Regions from separate parts of the Homo sapiens genome. Here all the other regions are linked to region 7. The links are contacts of gene promoters, found by promoter capture Hi-C in blood cells and fetal thymus (Javierre and others, 2016). All regions are on one chromosome and are shown on one strand. Each heading gives the region's core, a stretch centred on a gene start or on the middle of the fragment in contact. The rest is flanking DNA. Distances are from core to core; before and after follow the strand shown.

Evidence for each region. The method cuts DNA at HindIII sites, captures the fragments that hold promoters and counts their contacts. A CHiCAGO score of 5 or more calls a contact.
Region 1: a fragment that was not itself captured here is called in contact with the fragment with the promoter of TTC32 in region 7 in 12 of 17 cell types (total CD8 T cells, naive CD8 T cells, non-activated CD4 T cells and 9 more); the score reaches 18.6 in total CD8 T cells.
Region 2: a contact is called between a fragment that was not itself captured here and the fragment with the promoter of TTC32 in region 7, in 1 of 17 cell types (endothelial precursors). The highest score is 5.9, in endothelial precursors.
Region 3: a contact is called between a fragment that was not itself captured here and the fragment with the promoter of TTC32 in region 7, in 1 of 17 cell types (erythroblasts). The highest score is 5.0, in erythroblasts.
Region 4: a fragment that was not itself captured here is called in contact with the fragment with the promoter of TTC32 in region 7 in 1 of 17 cell types (erythroblasts); the score reaches 5.5 in erythroblasts.
Region 5: a contact is called between a fragment that was not itself captured here and the fragment with the promoter of TTC32 in region 7, in 5 of 17 cell types (megakaryocytes, naive CD8 T cells, total CD8 T cells and 2 more). The highest score is 10.3, in megakaryocytes.
Region 6: a contact is called between a fragment that was not itself captured here and the fragment with the promoter of TTC32 in region 7, in 2 of 17 cell types (naive B cells and non-activated CD4 T cells). The highest score is 6.1, in naive B cells.

Annotation. Positions count from the first base shown.
Region 1 is chr2:18,528,811-18,532,551 of GRCh38, reverse strand. LOC105373454 (a long non-coding RNA gene) reads right to left here. Exons shown (of 8, transcript XR_001739302.1): 8 at 1-3,741. Among named protein-coding and RNA genes, the nearest start is that of RDH14, 30 kb to the left of the region's middle. The HindIII fragment of the contact is 2,143 bases long and covers 1,219-3,361 here.
Region 2 is chr2:18,408,561-18,412,098 of GRCh38, reverse strand. All of the region lies in intron 4 of LOC105373454 (a long non-coding RNA gene), which reads right to left. Among named protein-coding and RNA genes, the nearest start is that of RDH14, 150 kb to the left of the region's middle. The HindIII fragment of the contact is 1,941 bases long and covers 550-2,490 here.
Region 3 is chr2:18,426,042-18,429,556 of GRCh38, reverse strand. The region is part of intron 4 of LOC105373454 (a long non-coding RNA gene); the gene reads right to left. Among named protein-coding and RNA genes, the nearest start is that of RDH14, 130 kb to the left of the region's middle. The HindIII fragment of the contact is 3,445 bases long and covers 1-2,981 here.
Region 4 is chr2:18,443,606-18,447,031 of GRCh38, reverse strand. All of the region lies in intron 4 of LOC105373454 (a long non-coding RNA gene), which reads right to left. Among named protein-coding and RNA genes, the nearest start is that of RDH14, 120 kb to the left of the region's middle. The HindIII fragment of the contact is 1,754 bases long and covers 414-2,167 here.
Region 5 is chr2:18,503,475-18,507,376 of GRCh38, reverse strand. The region is part of intron 6 of LOC105373454 (a long non-coding RNA gene); the gene reads right to left. Among named protein-coding and RNA genes, the nearest start is that of RDH14, 55 kb to the left of the region's middle. The HindIII fragment of the contact is 4,359 bases long and covers 1-3,902 here.
Region 6 is chr2:18,387,383-18,391,237 of GRCh38, reverse strand. The region is part of intron 2 of LOC105373454 (a long non-coding RNA gene); the gene reads right to left. Among named protein-coding and RNA genes, the nearest start is that of RDH14, 170 kb to the left of the region's middle. RefSeq lists a silencer at 3,316-3,445. The HindIII fragment of the contact is 3,437 bases long and covers 238-3,674 here.
Region 7 is chr2:19,899,868-19,903,763 of GRCh38, reverse strand. TTC32 (tetratricopeptide repeat domain 32) reads left to right here and starts at 1,781. Exons shown (of 3, transcript NM_001008237.3): 1 at 1,781-2,058. The coding sequence starts at 1,910. RefSeq lists enhancers at 1,429-1,668, 1,058-1,938, 2,119-2,218, 2,299-2,358, 2,499-2,688 and 1 more. The HindIII fragment of the contact is 3,134 bases long and covers 656-3,789 here.

The DNA.
Region 1 (3,741 bases), core at 1,041-3,540, 1.4 Mb after region 7:
ACTCCAGAATCTCAGCACTTATCCTGTGGTGTACAGGGAGGGCCTGGAGCCCTTGAGTGTGGAAACTTTTAGACAGCGAGACCCTGAGGACTTAGCAAGGCCTGTGTCCTGATAACCCCCATCTTCCTACCTCCAACCAGGTAGAGGGCATTTCCTAACCAGTATTTCATACCTAGAGAATCTTTCGAAAAGTCTCCTTGCCGACCCCCATCTCTGTGTCAATGAAGAGATTTTATGGGCTTGTTTAAGAACCCCATTTGCTTTTTATACAGATTTTTTTTCCCAGTCTCTTTTATACCCAAGTGATATTTTTAAATTAATTTCATTGAAAAAGATATAATTATGAAGCTTGCTTATATAAACTGTACATGCAAAGATTCTCCAAGCCTCTCCTTCAATGTAGAGCTCTTTTGTGGGCAAATGAAGCCTCCTTCTGGATTATATTTCTACGTCCAGGTTTGCATAATTATTATTGCTAAAAATGTATCCCTTTTCTTCAGGCCTAGCTCTCTAACCTTAGCAGGCAGGATGCTCCCAGAATTGGGCCGGCCCTCTGCAGAGGCCTGGATCTGAGGGAGGAGAGGTGGGCCAGGCAGAGGTAAGCAGGGAGAAGAAGGGCATCCCAGCTCTCTGAGGACTGACTGACCATTAGCGTTACCTTGGCTGAGTGGGGCTGAGCAGGGTATCTTCCTCTCTTCTGACACTGCATCACCAGCACCCTGTGAGGGAAGCTCAGGACCTCTGGAGTTGGGAGATACTTGGTGTGTGCGTAAAAGCAAAGGCTCTAGAGCCAGAGACCTGGGTTCCAGTCTCAATTCTTCCTTCACTAGCTGTGGGTCACCAGGCCAAGTGACTTAATCTCTCTAAACTTAACTCGTCAGTGTGCAATATGACTATATATGGGATAACATGTATAAACACTCAATGTGGGGCTTAGCACGGAGTAAGAACTCTGAATATTCACCATGTCAATATTCATTTAGATGCAAAAGATCTGAACTCAAGCCCACCCCTGTCCTTATAAAGCCCACCCCAGTCCTTTATAAACCTGGGCAAGTTACTCCCTCTTCTGAGTCATTTATGAAATGGAGTTAATGATTCCTGACTATCTTCCAGCATTATTTTGGAGTCTGTATGACATCATAAATGTGGAAGTACCTTGCACATTCTTATCGTTACAAAGCAAATAATCTCAAGGGCTTTGGACTTTCAGAAGCTTCTGATCTGGATAAACTGACAAAAAAAATATGCTTCACAGACTTGGCACAGTTATTTATAGCCTGGATCCCCTAAGCTGTAAAGTATTTCCTATGGGGGAGCATGCAACAGGACCCCTTGTTTTGGTTTTACTAATGAAACGGGTTTCATATGTTACCTGAGACCTGTAAGAACCACCTGAAACATCCTTGCCATCTACTGCCACTGCACTGCCAACATTTAGGATACGCTTACCCACTGCCATGTAGTTCAGGGGCAAGGGTGGGAAGAATTGAATAGCAGATGGGCAGAAGGCAGTAGAGTGAAAGTGAACGTCGGTACCAAAGAGACCTCCAAGGGAGTCGATGTCAGACAAGCACATGTAAAATCCCCTTCAGGTAGCTGGTGTTGCACAAGGGTGGAAAGAAATACAAAACCATAACCATAATGAAAATAGCTAAGGTTTTCAGAGGAAGGAGAACTCACTGGGGTCCGTATGAAAAGCCTTCCTGGAGAAAATCAGAACCGAGAGCAGCTGGAGTACTGGGAAAATAGAAGAGAACAGCAGGAAGGTACTAAAATCCGAGGCCATCTCTATCCTTTGGTTTTTTAGGACTAAGGGACGAGACTACTCTGGTGCTTTCAAGATAGCCCATCTGAAGGAGCCACTCCTGAGATTTAAAACTGCAAGAATGCTTTGGTCAGACCTGTGATCCAATGGGCTTCAGTGGGGGTTTGCAGGAGGCAGGACTTGTTGTCAGCCTTAATTTTGGTAAAAACACCCACTGCCCAACTCTTCGGCAATGAGTAGGAGAACAGCCCCTAACATTTATGAGCCCTTACCATGTGCCCTTAACACTTGTGTTAGTTGCAGGTTCTCCTTCATTTACAATGGGGTTATACTCGGATAAAACCATCATAAATTGAAAACATCCTAAGTCAAAAATGCTTATTTTCCACCAAATATTTTCGCTGTACAATGGTTTTGTCAGGACATAACTCCATCAATGTGTATCACTTTCGCACCACAGTAAAGTAAAAAAAAAAAAAAAAAAAAAAAAAAAGTAAGTGGAATTACTGTTAAGTCAGGAATCATCTGTAATTTCAGATTCACAGGAATGACATGATAAGGTCCTATTATTGTATTAATTATTTACTGCTATATAATGAATTACCACAAATTTTAGTGACTTAAAATAACACACATCTATTATCTCAAAGTTTCTGTGGGTCAGGAATCCAGGTATGTCTTGCCTGATTCCTTCAGCTCCAGGTCTCTCACACAGCTGCAATCAAGATATCAGCCAGCTCACAGTCACCTCATTTCAACTAGGGTAGGGTTCATTTCCAAGCACACTCAGTGGCTATTGGTAGGTCTTAGTTCCTTGCTGGCTGTTGGGCAGAGGATATCCTTGTTTCTTGCCATATAGACCTCTCAATATGGCAGCTTGCTTCCACATAAAGAGCAAGGAAGGGAGACAGCAAGATGGATTTAAATTGATTTCAGAGTCTTTTAAAACCTTATCTCACAAGTGACATCCTGTCACTTATGTGATATTCTCATTAATTACAAGGAAGTTACTAGGTCCACTCCATGAAGGGAATTGCACAAGAGTATGAATACCAAGAGGCTGGGATCTTTGGGGGGACACCTTAGAGGCCTTTCTACCATAAATATGATCTCCATTTTACACAAGAAGAAATGGAAGCTCAGAGAGTTTGGAGAACTTGCTTTAGGGTCTCATAGCTAATAAACTGGAAGGAGGATATGAATGTGGGTAACCTGAATCCAGAGTGCCAATGCCTTTCATCAGGATGCCCTCCAAATAGCATGAACTGTGCTGTGTGGAAGAAAGGCTTTCTTCTTCAGCTATTACCACTGCTGGGGGGGCTTGAGTTAAACCCAATTTATTGTGCCAGAGAATAATCTGTACATCTTGCCTGCCACAACTCAGATTCAGATAGCAATAATTGTGGCCCTGCTGGAGCACAGAGTAAAGCACTCATTAGAGAAAATCTTGGCCTTTGGAGGATGGAGACATAGAAAAAAAAAAAAAAAAACACTGAGTGCCTAGCTGGTGCCACCTCAGGGTCTTGGACTTTCATCCATGTGGGGAAGCATTATCCCCTTATTTTCATGGGGCTCTCTCTTCTCATTCAAGCTTCTGCTTCAGGTTTTTCTGTAACCTCTCCAACCTAAAACATCTGACATACCCATCCCTCTCTATTTTATTTTTTTGTTTTATTTTTATAGCATTTCTTCTGATTTGATGTCATTTTACTAATTTTGTGTTAAACTGATGATGCTCGGTCTTCTTGCACTGGAACATAAGCCTCACGGAAATCAGACCTAGTCTGTTTTATTTACCCTTATGCCCCTAGAACTGCATGCAGAAGGCTCTCAATGGATACTTGTGGATTGATTTGCCACATATATAGCAGACTAAGGGTTAATTGGTATTTAGGTTGTATAAATAATACATTCATAAGGAAGAGACAAATATCCAATGGAAAATCAACCAGAGATGTGAACAGGCATTTCCA
Region 2 (3,538 bases), core at 271-2,770, 1.5 Mb after region 7:
GAATCTGACCTAATACAATTATTTCCAAAAGGAGAAATTTTCTCTACATTTTCCAGTGATTTAATCAGAGTACATTGGCATATTCACTACTGCAAAAGCCAAGAAATCCTATATGGATTATCTCAGTGCCATAGAAATGAAAAACTAGAAGGTATTCAGACCATTATTTAGAGTGATTTACTTACTCAGTATGATCATATTTTCCAACTTCAAGCTTAGTTAAAAGCAACTTAATTTCAACATTTTACTGAAATACAAAGCCAGATTTTCTCACTGGCCAAAAGACATGGCCAGCTGGAATTATAGAGCCCATAGAGGACACTTTAATACCATTCGACCACAGAAATTTTGTTTAGAAAGTTTCCTCATCTACAAAGCTAGCTTTCTCAGGACCTTTCTTCTAATAAAGAAATAGATGAATCTAAGTTAGTATTGAAACATACACTAGACAAAGAACATTCCAATCACCCTGAGAAATAGAACTAAATTCACCCCTTCTCCTGGGGAAGATAAAATGTCAGTGTTTGAACTCAGGAAGTTATAGAAGCTTCCAGTGATATCATGGATTAACTTGCTTTGTGGCTTTGCTTTGAGCCTAAAGTCTTTGCTACTGGCCTAGGAATAAGTCCTGAGCCCCTTTAGCCACCACCTGGGTAAGGACAACAGTGAGTACCTGCATTAGTCAGGGTCCAATCACAAGACAGGAACTATGTGGAAATTTGAACAGAGGAAGTTTAATATAAAAATTACTAGCTATAACAGAGCGTTAAAGTAGTAAGGGATTGGCTAATAAGAGGTAAAGAGTGTGCTACAGAACACAGGTGTAGAAGAGCTAAGGAGCAACCACTATCCTCAGGGCTGAAAGAGAGAACCCTACCAAGAGCCTCTCACTCATTGCCCCAGGGCTGAGATCCAGACCTTGGTGGAGGGCATGGTTATGGATGGCAGAGAAGTTCTGCCACGCATACTCATCTATCCTCTAGGGTGCTGGGCAAAGGTGGTTTGCCTGAGACACTGTGCTACAAAATCACTTGCTGCTGAGTACTGAGGATAGCTGTGCAAGTGCTGGGGAAGTTGTCATACTCAAGGAGCCTGGTGCTGGGGACGCTGTGCACTGCAGGAGCCTGGTGCTGGGGAAACTGTGCATACTCAGGAGCCTGTTGCTGGAGAATACATGCACTGCAGAAGCCAGGCACTAAGGAAGCTGTGTGTCCTGCATGACCTAGGCATGCTGCAGGAGTCTGCTGAGAGAGCACACTAGAACTAGAAAAGACTATTGCTTCCTCCTAGAAGGACTTTTCCATGTCTCCTACTGACAAAAACTTAACATCATGCCAGACAGCAGGGGGAGTAATTATTTAAAAGGCTTACTTATATTTTTGCAAAGCAGATAACAAAGGGTAAATCTGAAGCTGACAGGTAATAAATTGATAACTGACAAAGAACCTCAGAGACGAAGCACCTTCTAATGTTATGCTGAGAGCCAGGTCACTGTCACCATGGGTGTGAGACCCTTTCTATATCCTGGGTGAAGCCTCAGTAGTTGATGCTCTGTGACTGCCCTCTTCCCCATGTGCCACTGAGTTATTCTTATGTTCCTAGGCTTCTCCTTTCCTCCTTTTACAAAAATGCTCGAACCTCTATCAGGAATAATGTGTTCAATGTCTGCCACTGTAAAAACAAAACAAAACAAAAAAACTTTTTTCTGTCTGGATTTATTTCAATCAAGTGAGAAACAGTGTACATGTATCATGCGCCTATTATGTGTCAGGCACTCTCAAAGGTACTTCTCTGTCTTGTTTTATCTTTAAAGAATGTAGGTATTTCAACCCCATTTAATAGAGGTTCATTAACATGGTTCAGATTAATCAGCTATTAACTATATGCTTAATGTTTTATGTGAATTTAATTATCCACTTATAAACTATGTAAATTTTGGAAAGTTAATTAAGCCTTTGATGCCTCAGTTTCCTTGTTTGTATAGTAGAGATAAGGGTAATATTGACCTCATACAGTTGTTGCAAGGATTAAATTAGATAATGGTCCAAAGTTCTCAAAACTATGCATTGCACATTATATGAGCTCAGTAAACACAAGGAAGTATAGTATTAGTGGTGGTGGTGATATAAGTTGCAGTAGTATTCAGGCCCAGATCTACAGACCTCTGAAGCTCATGATCCTTTTCTCATGCATTACTGCTAACCATTTTTTCCTTTTTTACACAATCAGTTTCTACAGAGTGTAGCTCTAATTCTAGAGGTCTGAAGCACATAAAGGACTCAGTGGATGGATGTTATGAGAAAACTGCGTTAACTCTACTAGGATAAGCATTTCAGAAATAGACATCATAAGAAATTGTCATGTCAATGAAGTTTGTATTCTAATATATCCCTATTCTCTCCTCTCATCTCCAATACATGCTCTCCATCTTTAAACCAGCTCTCAGGCTCTCGTTAGGCTGTGGGTCTCATGCCTGGTAAGAGCCAAGCTTATAATCTTATCTTGGATCCAGGAACAGTGAGATTAAAACCTATAGTAAATAAAAGATGTTCTGAGAAGCCCACTGCCTTTCCAGTAACAATGGGACAGTTCAAACCTTTGGCCATATTTGCCTCCTTCTTTCTTTCTTACCCTATACAACAAATAAGTTGAGGTTTCTAGTTTGGCAGTTTATTATTGGCAGGAAGGTTAAGCATAATCCTCAGATCTGCCTTTGGCAGGAATTATCCTGTAAGGTCAATATGAGCAGCTTTCAAAATGGCTGGTTCCAGTAAATCTTGTTACTATTGAAGCTCTAGGTTCAGTGTATCAACTCATAGAGATGTGTCCTATCTCTGCCACTTAGCAGGTATCTAGCCAAAAGGGTTACTTAATCACTCTGAGGCTCATTTGTTTATAATATATGAATAATAATAGTAACTACCTTAAAGGGTTTTGTGGACAAAGATTTATAAACTATTTACATTCACAGATATTTGCAACTGTGCCTAGACCACTGTAAAGTACTCATGATACAGGCCAGCTAGTTATTTTACAAACTATTTTTCTCCTCTGGAATATAAATCTAAACTACCATTCCAAACTTCCTTTATGTGTGGCCAAGGACTGAAAATTCAAAATGGACAGAAGTAACATATAGCACATCCAGGACTGACTTGTGAAAACCTCTTGTGTTATTTTCCATTCTCTTCCTCCATCTGCTAGCTGGATGTAGACATCCAGCAGAGGACGCCAAGGCCCTGGGATTGGTAGACACACAGATGGAAAGATGCTGGGCTCCGAAGCACTGCATGAAGGCTGCCTGCCAAATCCCCACATTGAAAATCATTTGAGTGAGTACATAGAACTCTACTGTATTAAGCTACTTAGGTTTTGGGCTTCTTTCTTAGAGCAATAATCAATGACATTCTGGAAAATGTTTAAGAATCAGCACTCTGAAAAATGATTCCTGATTTGTAGTGTTTGCCAATTTCCATGGTGTAAATACTCCCACCATGGCCAATTTCAAGTTACCAATGTGACATTACTGAATGTGGAG
Region 3 (3,515 bases), core at 10-2,509, 1.5 Mb after region 7:
CTGATGGTCACCTGATATTCCTGGTGCGTGTGGTGGTGGGGACGAGGGGAGCCCTCTCCTGCTCTGCTCATGTCTGTCTAGTTACCTACTGTAACAAGACCATAGTATTGGGGACAGAGCTAGCACTCAGCAAAGACATGTTGAATAAATAATCCTTCACAAATCATCATCTCATGGTCTGAAGTTCTGGATTTCAATCTCTTGATTCCAATCTGTCTTGAGGTGAATGGTGAGTCCCCAAAAGCTGTGTTCACCTGAAGTCTGTGTGATCTGCTTTGTAAAAAGGGCCTTGCAGATGTAATTAAATTAAAGATCTTGAGATGAGATCATCCTGGATTACCTGGGTGGGCCCTAAATATTGTGTTGGTGCAAAAGTAATTGTGGTCTTTTCCATTGAAAGCAATGGCAAAAAACCGCAATTATTTTGTACCAATCTAATACAATGTTGTCCTTATGAGAAGAGGAGAAGACACAGAGAGAGAAGGTCATTTGAAGTCTGAGGCAGATGTTGGACTTACATTGCCACAAACCAAAGAACACCTGGGACCACCAGATGCTGAAATGGACAAGGAAAAATTCTGTCCTAGAGTCTTTTGAGGAAGCATGGCCCTGCCAACACCTTGATTTTGAACTTCTAGCCTTCAGAACAATTGGACGATGAATTTCTGTTGTTGAAGCCCCCAAATTTGTAGGAATTTGTTATGGCGGCCCTAGGAAGCTAATATACAATCTTCATGCCCAGCTCATTTTAGATCTCAGTGAGGAGCTTCCTGCCCTATTTAGCAGGAAGAGAACGGGGGCAAAATGGGTGAGGCACCTGGGGTGAAACATCTCAGGAGGCACTCAAGCACAGGCATGTCTCCTACTCCTGCAGTATCCGTGATTACATATGCAGGCTTTAAGAAATCAAGACAAAGAAAATACGGGTGTAACTTTGTCTTGAATTCTAAGTTCAAGTTACATCTACAGATCTATTTTCAAGCTGATAGACGTAAGACATTCTGATTGCAGTCAGAGTACCTCAGAATGCCCCAGAAATGTTCACGGTGGCCTCATGAGGGACAATAAACTGCAAGAGTGTCTATCCAAACAGTTGGCCAAATTTTTCAAACACTCGGACACCTCATTTTGAGAAGAAGAAAAAGGAAACAGTCTCAGCCTGAATAATAATTCTGTTACTATTACCCCCTAATTCTTCTGGGTGTGCCAGACATACATGGCAAGGAAGAGAGTTGGAGAGAAAGCAGGGATTTCTGAATGTGACAAATAGAAACCCAGAAAAGAGTTGCATAAAGAGAAAAATCATAGATGGAGCCCAGGAAGTTAACAGCATCCTCAGCCAGCATGGTTATCAATCCAAGTGGTGACTTGATCCTCCTTTGTTTTTCTCCCCTATCTGCTCCTTGATGACATAGAGTAACTGACTCCCATTTTAAGCCAATTAACCAGAAATGTAAGTTTCCATTTCTAGATTTTAAAATGTTAGAAATTCCTCTCTCTCAGTTGTAATGGAGCTAGAGTTGTTGTTTAAATCAAAGTTATGTTTTGTAAACAGCTACTCAAAGGAAAAAGAAAGCCAAACTTCTCTCCCTGAAGATTCCAACCAGTTAGGAAGACAGCAATATATAAAATGAGCCAGATGATCTAATCTCTAAGTGTTCCATACAAAGTTTTATATGGCTAATCTTTCACATCCAACTTTCAAAATGTCTCCAACTGGCTGACCAAGGAGAATTACATTTTTTTGCCCTTAAGTCCATGATTATGTGGCAGAAGGGAAGACCCTTATCTTTTGTCTTCAGTTTATTTTTTCAAGTTCTTTTTTTTTCATGAGGAGACTGTGTACAAGTAACTGTTGGGTTAAGTCATTGCTGTCCAGTGATGTGAGATTTCAAGTTGGTAGTGAGCAACAGGATATCTTCTGGAGCTAACACACTCATTTACAGATGAGCCAGCTGAGCCCCAGCATGAAGAAAAGACCTCTCAAGGTCATCAGAAAATCAGAGAAAAGGAAGACTTGTTGCACACCTCCTTTTGCTAGCATTTTATTCGATATGTTATCTGCATTTTTTATTTAAATCTCCTGATAGTCTTGTGAAGTGAGTATAATTATTGTCATGTTATAGGTGATAATCAATAATAAGATTCCAGGTTTGGAAATCTTGCAAAGTATTATCTTTGCAAAGTATTATCTTGCTTCATTTCCAGCCCCCTGTATGTGGTCCTTTCCTCATCTGTTCATCTATTCATTAAATTAAAACATCTTGTGTAGAAGACAAACTTTATGATTCCTGCCCTCTGATATTCACTCCTTGCATAGTTCCCTTCACTGAGTATGGGTGGGATCTGTGACTTGCTTGTAAACAGTAGAATATGGTCAAAGTGATGGGATATCACTCAATCATGTGATGTGATTATGTCACATTGTATGACTGTCTTGCTAGAAGACTGGCTCTAGAAACTTTCTCCCTTACTGACTTTAAAGATGTAAACCGTCATGTTGCAGAGGGTCTGTGAAGAAGACCACATGACAAGAAACTGCAGGTGGCTTCTTAGGGCTGAGAGTGGTCCCTGGGTGACAGCCAGCAAGAGGCCAAGACCATACTCCCACAACCATACAAGATGAATGCTGCTAACAACCTGAGTGAGCTGAAAAGCAGATTCTTCTCCAGTTGAGCCTTCACATGGCAACACAGCCTGACCTACATATTAAATTAAGCCTGTAGCAGAGAACCCAGTTAAGCTGTGTCTTGACTTGACGCACAGCAATTGTGAGAGAGTGAATGGGCATTGTTCTAAGATGCTACGTATATGGTAACTTGTTAACTCAGCATAGAAAAATAACACAACATCTATTATAACGCAGGTCCTGGAGATTCAAAAATCAGTAGCAGATTTCCTTTACCCTCAAGTTAGGGGCAGAAGAGATAAATAGGTAAACATTACATAGTTACAATGCACAGAAATAAATTCTATAAGCTTTTGTATAAAAGTTTGTGACAGTGGACAGGAAAGATGATGTGAGAAAGTTTTCTACCAGTACTTCCTTCTTCTCTCTCCAGCCCCCGAAGTCTCCTTTCTTTTTATCTCAACTTTCTCTTAAATTCTTCATTCCCACTGATAGGCCATGACTAATGACTCAAACTGACCTTTTATTCTTTGTGAGATACAGCAGAGAATGTGCTCATCAACCTCTGTGAGTTTCCTATCCTTTGGCATTCAGTATAGTACATTTTGTGGACTTTCTTAAGTTGGGTGGTGCCATGTGATTGAGTTCCAGACAATATTATTGTGGTATAGTAAAATGCACTATATTTGTGCCTGGCTCCTCAACTCTCATACAAGGTCTTTCACACCAAATGTAGAGGATGTGGTAGAAGACTTCATGGCCCTGGAAATGGAAGGACCCTGGGTTCCTAAACCTCTTTGTGGAAGCATGCCCATCATATAATCATCTCACTATAGTATGAGCAAGAAATAAACATTTATAGCATTAATCTACTGGGATTTGAGTT
Region 4 (3,426 bases), core at 41-2,540, 1.5 Mb after region 7:
TATACATTATGGAATAACATGCAGCCATAAAAAGAAATGAAATCATGTCCTTTGCAGCAACATGGACAGCAACTAAATAAGAAGCTCCCAGCATGTTTCTTAGGCATGCTAATGTAGAGTGACAAGGGAGATTAGATAACATCTTTATTGGGGAATAATATTACTAAAGAGAATGAGGAGAAAGAGCCAAAGCAAGAAACTTGCAAAGAGAATAGATAAAGAAATAGAAGGTTACAAGAATTAAGGAAGACGTTCCAAGAAGGGGGTAGTTGTCAAAGGCATTGAATGCCTCAGAGAGCGCAAATAAGATAATAAAGACAATCTGCACAGCTCTGAGACTTCAGGAAGCTGATCATTCCAGGCTGAGATGTGTATTTTGTCCTTTTTCAAAGAGGCCTGCTATGATCAAAGCTTTAGATCAATAATTATGTAGTAACATGGACATATTTTGAGTTTGAAAGGCTGCGCATATGGTGACCATTGACCAAGATGTCAGGAAGGAGGAGATACAGGCTTTGGGTGAAATGATAGAGCTGGTTTGGAATCCATTGTGTTTAAGGTATCTTTGAGATAATCAGGCATGGCTTTACAGAAATAATTAGTGCCCAGAAAGGAGGTTGAGTCTACAGTGTACAAATGAGGTTTCATCCTCCTGCATGTGGTATTGGGCTTCAAAGATGAATGAGATTGTCCAGAGAGAATGTGTGACTGGTGAAGAAATAGGAACCATTTGTGTGATTCAGACAAGAAATGTTTTTCATATGATCAGAGAAAAGGTCCAGGCTGATGGCCAGACAAAGGGACACAATGCAACAGTCACTGAGCTGGGCTGGAACTGTTGAAATCTCTGTTTGGGGTGTCTGTGGGTTTTGCACAACTCCTGCCTGCTTTGCCTGCCCTTAGTTACTTCACAGGATCCACTGGAGAGAGCTATGGGAAAAGTTGGCTTGGGTGTTACTCCCCCAGCCCCTCCCACTGATGGTTAGTTATTTCCCCCTTTGATTTCATTTCTTGGTAAAAGCCATCAGTTACACTTCAGGCAATCCCTGTAGTGTTATTTTGCTTCTTTTCTTGGCTCTTTTATCTCCAGATAAGAGACAGTACGTCCCCATAGACAATGGTGCTGCTTTTAGCCTCCCAGTGGACATCTCCCTTTCCACTAGCCCTGAGATGGAGACTTCAGGGAGAAGAAGAGAGTCTTGCACAATCATGATCAAATGTATGATTTATTTTAAGCTAACAAACAATTGTTCTGACTCCCTCAGGGGACAAATTCTAATATTTCCAAAAGAAAGTGGAGCCAGCACCACGGGCTGGCTCGTTGAGATGTACTGTAAATAGCTTCCAAATCGGGAGTAAAAAATGCAGCTCAGTTGGAAGGAGAGAAGACAAGGCCCAGAGAAATGGCCACGTTGGCTCATTATTTTTCTGAAGATGTCCATATTGGCACTGCTCAGCCCGATGTCGGCAGAACACATTTATTGCCTCACACAGCCAGCCTTTGTCATGTGGAATCAGTTGACATCTGGGGGCTGTTTCATGTTTCTCTTCTTCATCTGCCCTCACTCAAGTATTTGGAGACATCAGTTACTAAACCAAGCATGAAGAAAGCAATGCTAATTAGGTCATCCTCTATAGTGCAGTACACATGGTAAGGCTCTATTAAAATAAATAATGGAATAATTAATGAATTCATTAGCAAATTCATTTCCTGTCAGTTTGAGTCTCATCTGAGGGCTCGTTGCAGAGGTTGTTCCTAATTTCATTAAAGACAAGGACTTAAGCAGATCTGTGAAAATTTTCAGGATATCACATATTGGGGAAAATGATGATAGAATTTTTCTTTTACCCCTTTCTCATGTCATGGCAGGGATTGGGAGGGGAGCTGTTGTTAACCATCTCCTAATGTGAATATGTAAGGATGAGGGTTTGGCGGGTAGATGGATAGGTCTTCTAGCTAACAAAAGAGGAGGAAGGAGCATCCCAGGATGCTTCCCACGTAAGTCAAGAGCCAAGCACAATGGGGATCTGAATGGCAGCCAACATCAATTGTTGTATCATCTTGGCAATTCTTGGTGCAGAGACTTGTTTGTCCAAGGACTTGAAGTTTAAGGACAAGGCTGCAAACTCTAAAGGACTATGTCCATCATTAGCAACTATACAAGCTTAACCCTGAGTCAAATTTATTCCTGTCTTTGTGTCTGAATATAACCTCAGCTGGACCCTAATAGCTGTTTTTTACTCACACCTAGAAAATTACTCACTGAATTTTCCCCAACAGCTATTTAAAAGTGTCTCCATTCTTTCCAAATCCTTTACCAAACTCTGTCTTGATCATTTCCCAGAAGTATTTTAGATTGCCTTCTTTGCTAAGATTGAGGCCATCTGAGGATGAGGTCCTTTTCTCTCCACATAGCAGAAGAGAAGAAGTCTTTCTGCCGTCTCGCACCTTCCCTTCAACCTTAGAGAAAGTACTGCCCCTCCAAACCATGGTGACACAACCTCACTTATCCTCAGAATCCCCTCATTTCCACTTTCTCAGGGGCCTTACCCCAACAACTATTCCCCCCCTTTCTCCTTTTTCCTCTATCCTATATTAATCCAAATTTCTAAACATATTTATGCTGCTTTGACATTCTGGGGGGCCTAACTGGACAGGGAGAGACTGCCCCTCCCAGGGATAGCTAATCCCCAGAGACAATAAGCAACTGGCCTGCCAACACACCTCTCCCATGCAAACCAACCAGTCCTTAGAGGCCAGGCCCTTAACCTCCTTCTTTATCTAGCTTTCCCATACCAAACCAATATTTTCCCTGCCCTAAATCGACCCAGGAACCAACCATCCTATAGCCCAGAGCCTGCCGACATTATTCAAGAGCCAGTCCTAAGCTGTTTCCCTGCTCTGCTCGCCATTCCCACAGAAAACACAATAAAAGCACCGAGCCAAGCTTTCCCTGACAGTCCTGCCTTTGCTTCCTGACCAAACCTGGTGTGGGAACCGCGGCCCTATATGGTGTGGCCTGCTTCCTTCTCTTGAAAACCATAAGTAACAAACTTTTCTTTTAGTAGCAATGACCTCTCTGTGTCATCACTCAGTCGTCTCCATAGGCTAAAGCCTTGTGGGTGCATCTTAACACATCTCCCTCCCTCTTGTCTCCCTCTCTTTCTCCTTCTCTCTCTTCTTTTCTCTCAACCTCTTTGGTTCTTTCTCTTAATTTATTTTATATATTTCATTTGAAAATGTGATTGCTTTTGCAAAAAACAAACATTTAAAATTTTATTTCAAAATTGAAATAATATAGAAAATAGAATAATATTTTTAAATGCACCAGAAGATTTATGCTCCAGAGAAATACACTGATAATATTCTGGTGAACATCCCTCTAGACCTCTCTTTTGTATAGAAATATATATACACTGTATATA
Region 5 (3,902 bases), core at 929-3,428, 1.4 Mb after region 7:
TGAAAAGTGGTTTAACTTCAGTGGCAATCAGAGACATAAATATTGAAACCACAATGTGAAATTGAATGTCAAAAAATTTTAAAGTTGCATAATATTAACTTTGGTAAGATGTTTCACTCGTCGCTGGTTCGAGGGTAAATTGGTACAATCACTTGAGGAAACAGTTGGCATGATCTCTTGAAGATGGAGATTCATGTACTTTACGACCAGTCTTTCTAGACTTGCTGTATATACTATAGAAGCCTTTGTATATGCGCTCCAGAGGACACGTATGAGCATATTCGCAATAACTGAAACTGGAAGTAACCTAGCTGTTCCCCAGCAGTAGAATGGCTACCTGCATGACAGTTTCTTATACCAGGGTATTCTATACAGAAAATAAGATAAATGAACAGCAGCTGCGTACAATAACATAAGAAAAATCTCTAAACATAATGTTCAATAATGAACAAATCATGGGACTGTACATATATATTATATATATGCATATGTGTATATATAATATATATATGCATGTGTGTATATATATTATATATATGCATGTGTGTATATATATATAGCTGTGTGTGTGTGTGTGTGTGTGTGTGTATACAGTGATTCTTTTTGTAGGAAGTTGAAAAATAGCCTAAACTAAATAATGCTTTTGAGGAAAAATTTTAACAGCATTAAAGCTCAGGAAAACAAATAAATGATTATGATGATAGTTAGCATAGTGGTTACCCCTCTCGGATGAGAAGAGGATTACAATTGCATAGAGGCAGACACAGGGCTTCTGGGGTTCTGTAGGTGCCCCATTTCTTGACCTGGGTGCTGTTTTCACAAGAGTAGTTCTTTATAATCATTCATAGAGCTATACATATATATTTTATATATGTTTAAATATAAATTTTCGCTATCTGCAAATGTTTTGAATAAGGAAGAAAGGGAGGGAAAAAAGAAAAAGAGGGGGAAAGAGGAAGGGAAGAAGGAAGGGAGTTGGGCAGACTTAACTGACGCAAATGCCAGATCCATCCTCCCCCAGGGTTGGTATCCAAGCCATTGGGCTTTGCTTATTGTTTGGATGATTGCATCCACACCCGGTCTGGATACCTTCCTCTGGAACCTGATGGAGCCACCACTCCAAGTTGCCAGTGCAATGAAATTATCACATGTTGAATTTCATACTGACTTTAACCTTTCACCTGTGATCTAGATAAACTTCAAGCTGACAACGCCTTGGATTTCAAGAACTTAAGCCTGCACTTTGCTTCTATGAGGAACTGCCAATGTTTTGCCCTCAGGCAAAGAGGAAACCTGATTTCTTTCCCCTGACCATGTCTCAGAATGTCCAGTTCCAGCCGTTAAGATCTCTCCCCTGCTGCAATCTGCTAATTAAGAACATACTCTGTCACCTCTCTCGCTCTCCCTCTTCATCTTCCTCTCCCTTTCCCTCTTTTCCCCTCTCTCCACCTCATTTCTTAATTTTTCCCTCCTACTCTTCCTCCCTTTCATAACATTGCATCATTTCTGATTGTCCTGCTTTGTGATACAGTTCAGGGAGGTTTGACACAGAGAAGAACTGTCAGTTCTTTAATCACTTCTTTATTATCAAGATAGGGAGAGAAATGCCATTATCTTTCACAACTTCACTTTGTGGGACAGATGTATTTTTAGTAGGCTCCAGAGAACTGAAACAATTCTATACATTAACATAACTTCAAAATCAACCACTTTCTCATTGATACAATTTGGAAATAAACTGAAGTGGGTATAGTTTCTTGCTCTTCTGTCCCTCCCAGGGGACAACAATTAGTGAACCAACCACTCATATGGAACTCTCAATTGGCCACGTGAATAGAGTGAGTGGGTAAGTGTTCATGTTCCTAACACATATAAAATATAAAAAGAATTTAAGAATATTACAATCTATACATAGATATATTTCATTCTTAGGATCTGCTCTAGCTAAAATAAAAATGATAATCTACCTACTAATTATTAAGCCACTGTTATATATAAGGTACTATGATAGTTGCTTGCTATACACTATTTAATTTAATCTTCAATAGTTCTACATGTATGTATTGTTTCTTTGCAGACTGAAGTGAACTGAGCTTATAGTGCATATGGGAAAAGTTTCTGTATAGTTCAATCTGCATCTAATTTATGCATGGATGCTTAGCAACTGTCAGAAAAGCATTCTGAACACTCCTCCATGGGGTGAACATTAAAAGATTCTTTTCCTCAGGGATCTAGAACTAGAAATACCACTTGACCCAGCCATCCCATTACTGGGTATATACCCAAAGGATTATAAATCATGCTGCTATAAAGACACATGCACACATATGCTTATTGCGGCACTATTCACAATAGCAAAGACTTGGAACCAACCCAAATATCCAACAATGATAGACTAGATTAAGAAAATGTGGTGCATATACACCACGGAATACTATGCAGCCATAAAAATGATGAGTTCATATCCTTTGTAGGGATATGGATGAACCTGGAAACCATCATTCTCAGCAAACTATCGCAAGGACAAAAAACCAAACACCGCATGTTCTCACTCACAGGTGGGAATTGAACAATGAGAACACATGGACACAGGAAGGGGAACATCACACACTGGGGCCTGTTGTGGGGTGGGGGTAGGGGGGAGGGATAGCATTAGGAGATATACCTAATGTTAAATGACGAGTTAATGGGTGCAGCACACAAACATGGCACATGTATACATATGTAACAAATCTGCACGTTGTTCACATGTACCCTAAAACGTAAAGTATAACAAAAAAAAAAAAGATTCTTTTCCCTCAAACAGGAAATTTTACAATTGTGTCTTAGAGTTTTAACTAAGTCTGAAACATTAAACAAAAATGAAAATGTAAGAGATAGGATTGCATAAGTCACGGGGGCATCAAAGAGGATCGGGTGGTGGGAGTAGAAAGTGTGGAGATAAGATTCCTAAAATCATTGCATGATACCCTCAGAAACCACTAACAGTAACTTCCAGCCTCAGCAACTCCCTTTGCTTATCAATTTACAACATGGAAATGGGTACATCACTCAAAGTCTATGTAGCAAATATTCGTGTCAATGGTGCTTAAAAATTCTGTCATTTTTTCCCCAAAACCCCTACAGAGAATCTCCCACACTGAAAATTAAGCTCAAGGAAAGTTTTGCTTCTTGCAATTTAGCAGTTTTGAGTTTTTCGTGCATGGGCGCCACTCCACCCCATCCCACTCCATCCTAAATTGAGTTTGAGGCTTTTTTGTTTTCACTCTTGCATAACATGAAAACGAGTGAACACATTTTACTCAAAATTTCCATCTGCAAATCCCCTAAGTGGTGTGAAAAATCCTGGAAAATCTCAGAGCAAAAGAGGACGCTAGGAAAAATCAGGACAAGTGGAAACAGCAGTGAGGGATGTAACCTAATGTCTGTGTCAACACAACCAGTGTTGCTCAAAGACGTCCGCTCTGCAGTGAGGCTGGGCTGCTAGGTCAAAGCCATGGCTTATTTCTGTTTCACAGTGATGATCAGGAAGCACCTGCCCCCATCAACAACCCAACATGCCTCTCCATTGTCCAGATCCTATAAAAATGATGCCCCAAAAGCAGCATTGGCTCTAAAGTAAAAAAGAAAAATTGGAAAATTGACATCAATATGGTCAAACAGGTATGAAACAGAACATTATTTTAACTAGCAAATTAGAATTCACTTCATATAGAGATATATATACACATATATATTTGTATACATACATATATGCATATGTATGTGTATATGTAGAGAAATCCACAAATATGCATATGTAAATAATATTTAATTGAGATGTGAATACGTTTTAGTATGTCTGATATAGTGTGGCATGGGCCTCTTAAAATATGGTCTTTGAAAAGCCCTGCTCAGCTTGC
Region 6 (3,855 bases), core at 707-3,206, 1.5 Mb after region 7:
TGGAATTACTTGCTGGGCTGCTGCTCTGGAGTGGTCATTACAATATTTCATTCTTCTTGCTTAATTTCAGGCTGTGCTTCCTCCATACATAAATACATCAAGCTATATAAAAACCAGAACTTTTATCTGCATACAGGGGTTTAGAGAGTTCGTTTCTCCTGCTCTGTAGGACAAGAAAAATCATTGTTTCCCGCTTTGATTTAGAGATTTGATTTATGCAGGTTTGCCTTTCAAGCTTCTGTTTCAGATGTGCTAACTCTCAGGTTTGTGTGCATTTGCTTGGATTTACTGACATGAGTTTAATTCCTGATTTACAACCTGCAGGCTTCAGATGAAGAATGAATTTTGATTTAGGGTAACACATTCTATATGGCTTCTATTTTCTACTCAGATTCAACTATTAGTTGGTTTTAGCACAAACTGAGTTATGGCTTTTCCTAAAAGGCCCTTTTTTGATTAAATTAAGATGGATTGAAAACCAAATCTTTCCCATATAACTACATGAAATAAAGTCCCTTCCTACAAGTCTGACTGACATGAAGTGGGGCCTCCAGAGAGAAGCTCCCCTGCTTCTGCACAGTTCTGCTGATTCGTGGCTGAGTATTGAAATCTTCTGGTTCTTCTCTCATGATCATAGGTTTGTTTCTTCATTTATCCATTTTCAAAACTCTTTGCAAAGATCTTTTACAGTCGTGTGTCACAGGATAAGCAGAAAAAGTTCTACGCCTTGTAATGTGTTGATGAACATCCAGTGTCCTGAATCACCCCAAACACACAAGACAAGTAAAACAACAACAACAAAAGAAACCCAGCAACACATGTAAGTCTTAATGTGCATATAATTTAGTATATTCTTCTATTTGGATCTTTGAGATATGCTCCTTAAAAGTTGGAAAGCTCTTGATGTATAATTAATAAAAGTGGTCTTTTCTCCAGTCTCACTTGGGTAACAGTTTCTTGAACTGATCAACCTTCAATCTGCCAAGGATCTCCATTTGCCTCAAAGATATTTATAACCATTATAGCAAAAATGTGAAGTGAAAGGAAAAGGTAACTTCTGATTCTATCTCAAAACTATAATTTAATGGCAAACCCCATCTTTAACATGGCCTGGGTGACTTAAATATAGAGTTTTTTGTTTGTTTTGTTTTGTTTTTTGTTTTTGTTGTTTTTAAGACAGGGTCTCACTTTGTCATGCGGGCAGTAGTGCAGTGGCCCAATCTTGGCTCATTGCAACCTCCGCCTCTGGGTTCAAGCAATTGTCCTGCCTCAGCCTCCCGAGTAGCTGGGGCTACAGGTGCATGCAACCACATCTGGTTAGTTTTGTATTTTTAGTAGAGACAGGGTTTCACTGTGTTGGCCACGCTGGTCTCAAACGCCTGATCCTCAAGTGATCTGCCCACCTTGGCCTCCCAAAGTGCTGGGATTATAGGTGTGAGCCACCGCATCCAACCAATGTAGGGTTTTACATAAGGAAGACTAATTGGCCTGGAAGAGGAAGAGGTGAGAACCTGCCCTTTGTGGCGATTATTGGGCAAAAAAGGGAGAAAGGAGAGCAGAGTGATCAAGCACTGGATGTTCTGAAGAAGGAACACAGACATATCAAGAAAGGGCTGGTGTGCCAGCAAAGGTATGGGATCAGAGCAAAGGCCAGGGTCAGGCCTTTGAGGCTTGAGCCAAGCAGTGTGGACCCAGACTCCAGCCGAGCAACTACTTTACAATCAGGAAGAGCAGAGGGTCGATATCACACCTCACAGATACCCTGCTCCCATAGCCATCAACACAAAATCACAAAGACACAGCCCTCTGCCATAAACTCAGCTACCAGCTTGGAGAAAAACAGAGGAAGAAAGAAAACACCCAAAAGCTGAGAGTTTATTTGGATTATTGACCAGAAAGAGAGTTATTTGAAGAGGCAGCTTTAATTATGCAAATGAACAGAATTGACCAGAGAGGGGCATATACAAAAGATGAAATCAGTTATCAAAGAACAGTAGATATATATTTTATTTGAATTTATTTATTTATTTACAACTCCAAATATGTTTGCAGCTTGTTATGATTATTGAAATGCACTAATCATTGTATCTGTGTATTAAATGACTTATTAAAATTACCTAGGGCTGGTGCAGCTTGTTTTGATTATTGAAATGCACTAATCATTGTATCTGTGTATTAAATGACTTATTAAAATTACCTAGGGCTGGTACAGCTTGCTGCAGATCCTCAGGAATATTTTAATATATTGATTGGTGTATCTATTATTTATGTAATGCACTATTTAATCACTTGGTTTCTTTTAATGGTTATTTTTATGCTAACCTTTTTATTTATTGCATGTGACACTAGTTTTCCAGTTATAAAAATGACATAAAGTTTCCTTTTAAAATTAAGTTTTTTAAAAAAGAGTTGATTTAAAAAAATATTTAATAAATAATAGTGCAAATGGATAGCAGACATAGCAACAATTATAAAGTTGGTATCAAAATGTCTGAAGTTTGAGAGGTGATACTCTAATGAAAATTATGGGATCTTCATCCACAAGGAAACTTGAAATGTGCACAAGCACCTAATAATCCTTTCGATAACTGGAAGCAACAGCACCAGGCTGGGCCCGTTAAGGGAAGGCTGATTGGTTAAGAAAATCATTCAAAGAATAAAGGGTACTCACATTGGAGCTCTTTTTATGTGCTGATGCTTTACATATATGGTTCTAATTTAACCTTTACAGCAGCTCTGTGATTACATTTTAAATGAGTACACCAAAGGCCTGAGAGTTAAGAGATGGATCCAAGTTCATGTAGCTAGTAAACAGCAAAGCTGAAATGTGAACCCTACTCCCTAAGAGCCAAGATATGTACTAAATCGAAGAGTTGAAGTTTGTCACTGAGATTCATTAAACAGCTATCCAAAACAAACAAACAACAACAAACAAACAAACAAAAACAGCTGTCCCAAGAGTAGTTGGGCCTATGTCTGTCTCCTTTCAGATTTCTCAAACCGCAACTGGATGTTGCTGCCCCAAGGGATGAAAAGGAGGAAGACAGTCCCTTAGCCAATAAGTAAAGAAGACGGCTCAGAGACCTTGACCTCTGAGACCGTGCCCGGGATGCACCTCAAATCACCAGGGTGTGACCGACCACTCATGGGCAAATAGCATGCGAGGTTTGTCTGTTGTGGTCATCCTGCGGCTAAACTAGAATCCTAGCCTGGGGAGAGTCAGCAGTAGTGTCTCTTAGTTTATAATTCATTAGAAAATGTCAATCCCCACTTCTTGGGATAGTTCAAGGGTATAGTGACAGGAATCTGAGTTGGCTACTGGTCGGTTAGGTCGTTGGTTTCACAAGCAAATGCTTCCCCCTAGTGGCTATGGCTGGTCATTGCATGTGCCTCCTCTCAGGACTCACTTCTGGAAAACTCTAAGGTGACTGTGCAATGTGGGTCACAAACAATTCTCCCTCACCTCCTACCCCCAGTAACTGCCCCACCCTGTAATATTCCTCAACAGTCCCTCTGTGCTTGCTGGACTGCCTTTGCGCCTCCTGCCCACCCTTCCCAAGGTATACTGGCTGCTTTCCAGACTTCCGGGTCCCCTCGTCCAGGACACTGGTTCTTCTCTCCTGTGCCTGGACCAGGCTGACAGCTCTTTCTGAGCATCTGCAGGCCCTGAAGCTTTGGGGACAGCGCCCTCTCCTGCTAACTTCAGTTTCACGCATGCAATTGACTCGCCCCCAAAACCGGATTGGAAAGTCTTCTCCAGACTTTCTATCCCTTAATGCAACCAGCCTAGAGAGGACTAGGCCTGTGGGTTAGAGGGATTTTATTAAATGCTGAACTCTTTTAGGAAGATGACTG
Region 7 (3,896 bases), core at 532-3,031:
ACTTCTAGTCAGGTGCGGTGGCTCATGCCTGTAGTCCTAGCACTTTGGGAGGCTGAGGTGGGCAGATGTCTTGAACCCAGGAGTTGGAGATCAGCCTGGACAACATGGGGAAACCCATCACCACAAAAAATACAAAAATTAGCTCACTGCCAACCACTTCCACCCAGAAGGGATTCTTGTGCCTCAGCCTCATGAGTAGCTGGGATTACAGGCACCCGCCACCACGCCCAGCTAATTTTTTGCATTTTTAGTAGAGACGGGGTTTTGCCATGTTGGCCAGGCTGTTATCAAACTCCTGTCCTCAGGTGATCTGCCCGCCTAGGCCTCCCAAAGTGCTGGGATTACAGGCATGAGCCACAGAGCCTGGCCATCTCCACTTTTTCTTATCCCCCAAAAGGATTAACATCCCTGGCTTTATGTAGAATAGTGTACGCTGCCACATCAGTGTTTGAGTCATTCCCCAGAGGAGAGGGGAATCCCCCCTCCATTTTTTTTTTTGCAACATCTTGTCTTCCCTTTGCTGTTGCTTCCCCCAACACACTTGGTTTTGTTCTATCCTGTACTTCAGATTTGTTTTTTGTTTTGTTTTTTTCATATTGAAAAGATGACATTGCTCCAAGAGGCAAAAATAAATGGGAACTGAAAAAAAAAAGCTTTTTATCTTATTTATTTAATCTTTTAATTCACCTGGAATGAATATTATGTCAATTGGGAGCTTAAATGCTTAAATGTATTTTTCCCCAAATGGTTAACTAATCCTCCCAATAGCACTCATTTGAATAATCTGTCCTTTCCCCATATATGTTACATGTCTTTTACAAAATACAGCCTATTTGAGGTATGTTTCTGGGCTTTTGTTCTATTGAGCTGTCCATTTGCTTACACCAGAAATGCCAGTTTATTTTTTTGTAGTCTTGCAATCTTTTAATTTCTACTAGTGCTTTTTAATTTAACCTTAATCCACTGTATTTGTATTTTTTTCAGTGGTGGTAAAAGGAAAAAATTAAAAATCTAATGAAAGCAGCCAAAAGCACACAATTTATGTCCTGTTAAGACTTCCGCATGTAAGTATCATGCTCCAAATATATTTTTCATCTTTACTTTTTATGACGGAAAGGGCTCAAGTACTTTGGGAAGCAAAACAGAATCGAGGGACGCCGAGAAGATACACAGCAGGCATGTAGGGTAGCGTGGTTGGCAACTGTTCTTACAAAATTTTAATTTGAATTATACGTAATGTACGTAATAAATTACTATTTGGATTTCCCTTTGGCATAAACAGCCAGGGAATATAACTAACATCAAAGATCCCAGACTCTCGACACAATATACTACTAATCGTAACACAATTCTAGAGGGTCAAAAAAGGTAGAGAAGTTTGGACCGTGGAACAGACCTGGTGGAATGTCGACACAAAGCGTTTCAGGGTAGACAAAGCCTACTCAGAACACCCTAAACGCGGAGTTTTGCTAAGTTGGGACGCTAAAAGGCAAGGGAATGACAGGACGTCCGCAGGCTAATTCGCCATTAAGAAACAGAACCGCGGCTTCTTCCACCTCCAGCGTCATCGGCCCCCAATTCGCTGTAACAAACGGATAGTGTCTCGCAGCATCAGACAACGGACTTGGAAATCAGTTTGCGACCACGCATCTGCGCCTTTTCTAGGAAAAGAGGAAGGCGGGTCCAACACTGGTAACGGCAGAAACATAGTTCACAAGGGCCACTGCAAACGCCCCGCCAGCAGCGGAACCGTTATCTCGCGAGACGACGGATCCCCATAAGGCACAAACCTAGCGCCAAGGTTGGCTGTCAAGGTAGATTCCAGGGTGTGGAAGTGGCTTTGTGGTGCCACCTCTAACCGCTCGGAGGTCAACCCCCATTCTACACCGAAAACTAGGCCTTGGCTGCTATGGAAGGACAGCGGCAAGAAAGCCACGCAACCCTAACACTCGCCCAGGCTCATTTCAACAATGGAGAGTACGCGGAGGCCGAGGCACTGTACTCCGCTTACATTCGCCGGTGCGCTTGCGCGGCCTCCAGCGACGAGAGTCCCGGGAGGTAACTATCGCGAGACCTGGGGCCGCGGCGACCCCGGGTGGAGGCGACGTTGGGGTTGTTTGGGCTCCTATCTTTGCCTCTGGAGCTCACGGTCGGCGCTTGTCATAACCCAGCACTAGGACTGAGCGGGCGGACGTTCGTCTTTCTAGAAAGGCCTAGGCGAGGCCTAGGACGAGGGCGGCGGAGAACGCGGGGAGAAGCCCACCCGTGAGGAGCCAGCTGCCGCGACGGTGCGGAGAGATTTCCGGGAACCAAGCCCTCTGCGCGATCCTCGGGCGCGGGCCGCCGCCTCTCACCCCGCCGTCTCTCCTTCCACGTTCCTCATTCGCACCCAGAGACTTAGGACAGATAGGAATTTTCCACTCGTGATTTTAGCTGGCGGGAAATCCGCGACCTGGGAAGGGAAGGGGTCACGGCTGCGTAGGGCCACAGTACCGCGACTCCCATCTCAGTGTCACGGCGCAGGCTCTTGGTGGTGTTTTTCACTTGTGAAAAACGTTTAAATATGTGGAAGAGAGCATAACGAACGTCTAGGTGTTTATCACTTGGCTTAAGCATTATCAGTTTACCTATTGTATTCATCCATGGATGTTTCAGAAGGAACCACCATGTCATCATCACATAGTTACTTAATATCAAGTCGTCAGTGTTGGAACCATTCTGATCGACTAATAAGGTGTTTTGTTCTTTGGTTCCCTTTTCGCAGTTAGTTCAAGTCAGGATACACATCAAGTCTTTTTAAGTCTCTTCTCCACCTTCCCCTCTTTATTTGTTGAGGAAACCGATTCTTGTGTCCTTTGAATTTCCGTGTTTTGGACTTGCTGACTGAATCTCTTCTGTCGTTTAATGTGGTCATCTGTCTCATATTGCTGTGAATTGGTGGTTAAACCTTGAGGTTTGATCCAATTGAATTCAGATTCAATATCATGGCAAGAATACTTTTTAGGTGGGTGTGTGTACTTTCACCAGGAAGCACATAACGATTCGCTGACTTTCTCTTTGTGATGTGAGCGGCTTCACCTGTTACTGTCTGCTTGCCCAAAGCATCTTTTCGGCTTGTGCCTGGATGTGTAGCATTTGTTTTTACTCCAAGTCTTGCCTCGACTGGGCTTGTTGATGGTATGGAGTGGATCAGGATGAGAAAAGAACAGAGGGGTTGGTTGAACAGCTTTTTGAATAGTTGTGAGTTGTCTGTTGTGGATTTGAGTTTTCTGGACAGGATGCCAGCTTGTCTTTTGTATGAGGCTTAACTAAACACTAAGGACTTGATTCTTACCCTGTTTGTTACGCTACATGGAATTAAACCAGAAAGAAAATTGCCTTCTCATTTCAATAACACACAAGAATAATAATAGAAGTTTCTGAACAGGCAATAAGATGATACCATCTACTTTCCTCAGTGCACCTCCCCCATAAAAAAGATAAGTAAACATAGAAAGCGAAACTATTCATGTTTCAAGCTCTAAGAGTAGACTTACCTAGTAGATTTTAAAAAGTATTTATCAGCATCAGGTATGCTGTTGCTGTCTAGTCTTGTTATTCTTCCTTCTTTGCACCTCTCAGCCTAAGAACACAAGTGTCTGTAGCATATATAATAGCTATGCCTTACCAGCACAGGAAAGACAGTTTGTCATAGCGCAGTAGAAGGGAGTTCATCATGCCTGAATTCCAGTCTTGGCACTGCCACATGGCTAATGTCTCAGCCTCAGTTTTTCATCTGTAAAATAAGCTTTTGATAAAATTCTAGGAACTCAAGGATTGAAACTGAATTCTGTCATTTCAACTTTTTCCCTTCAATTTATCTTTTGGAGCTTACATTTATTTTCTAAGTATTGGGT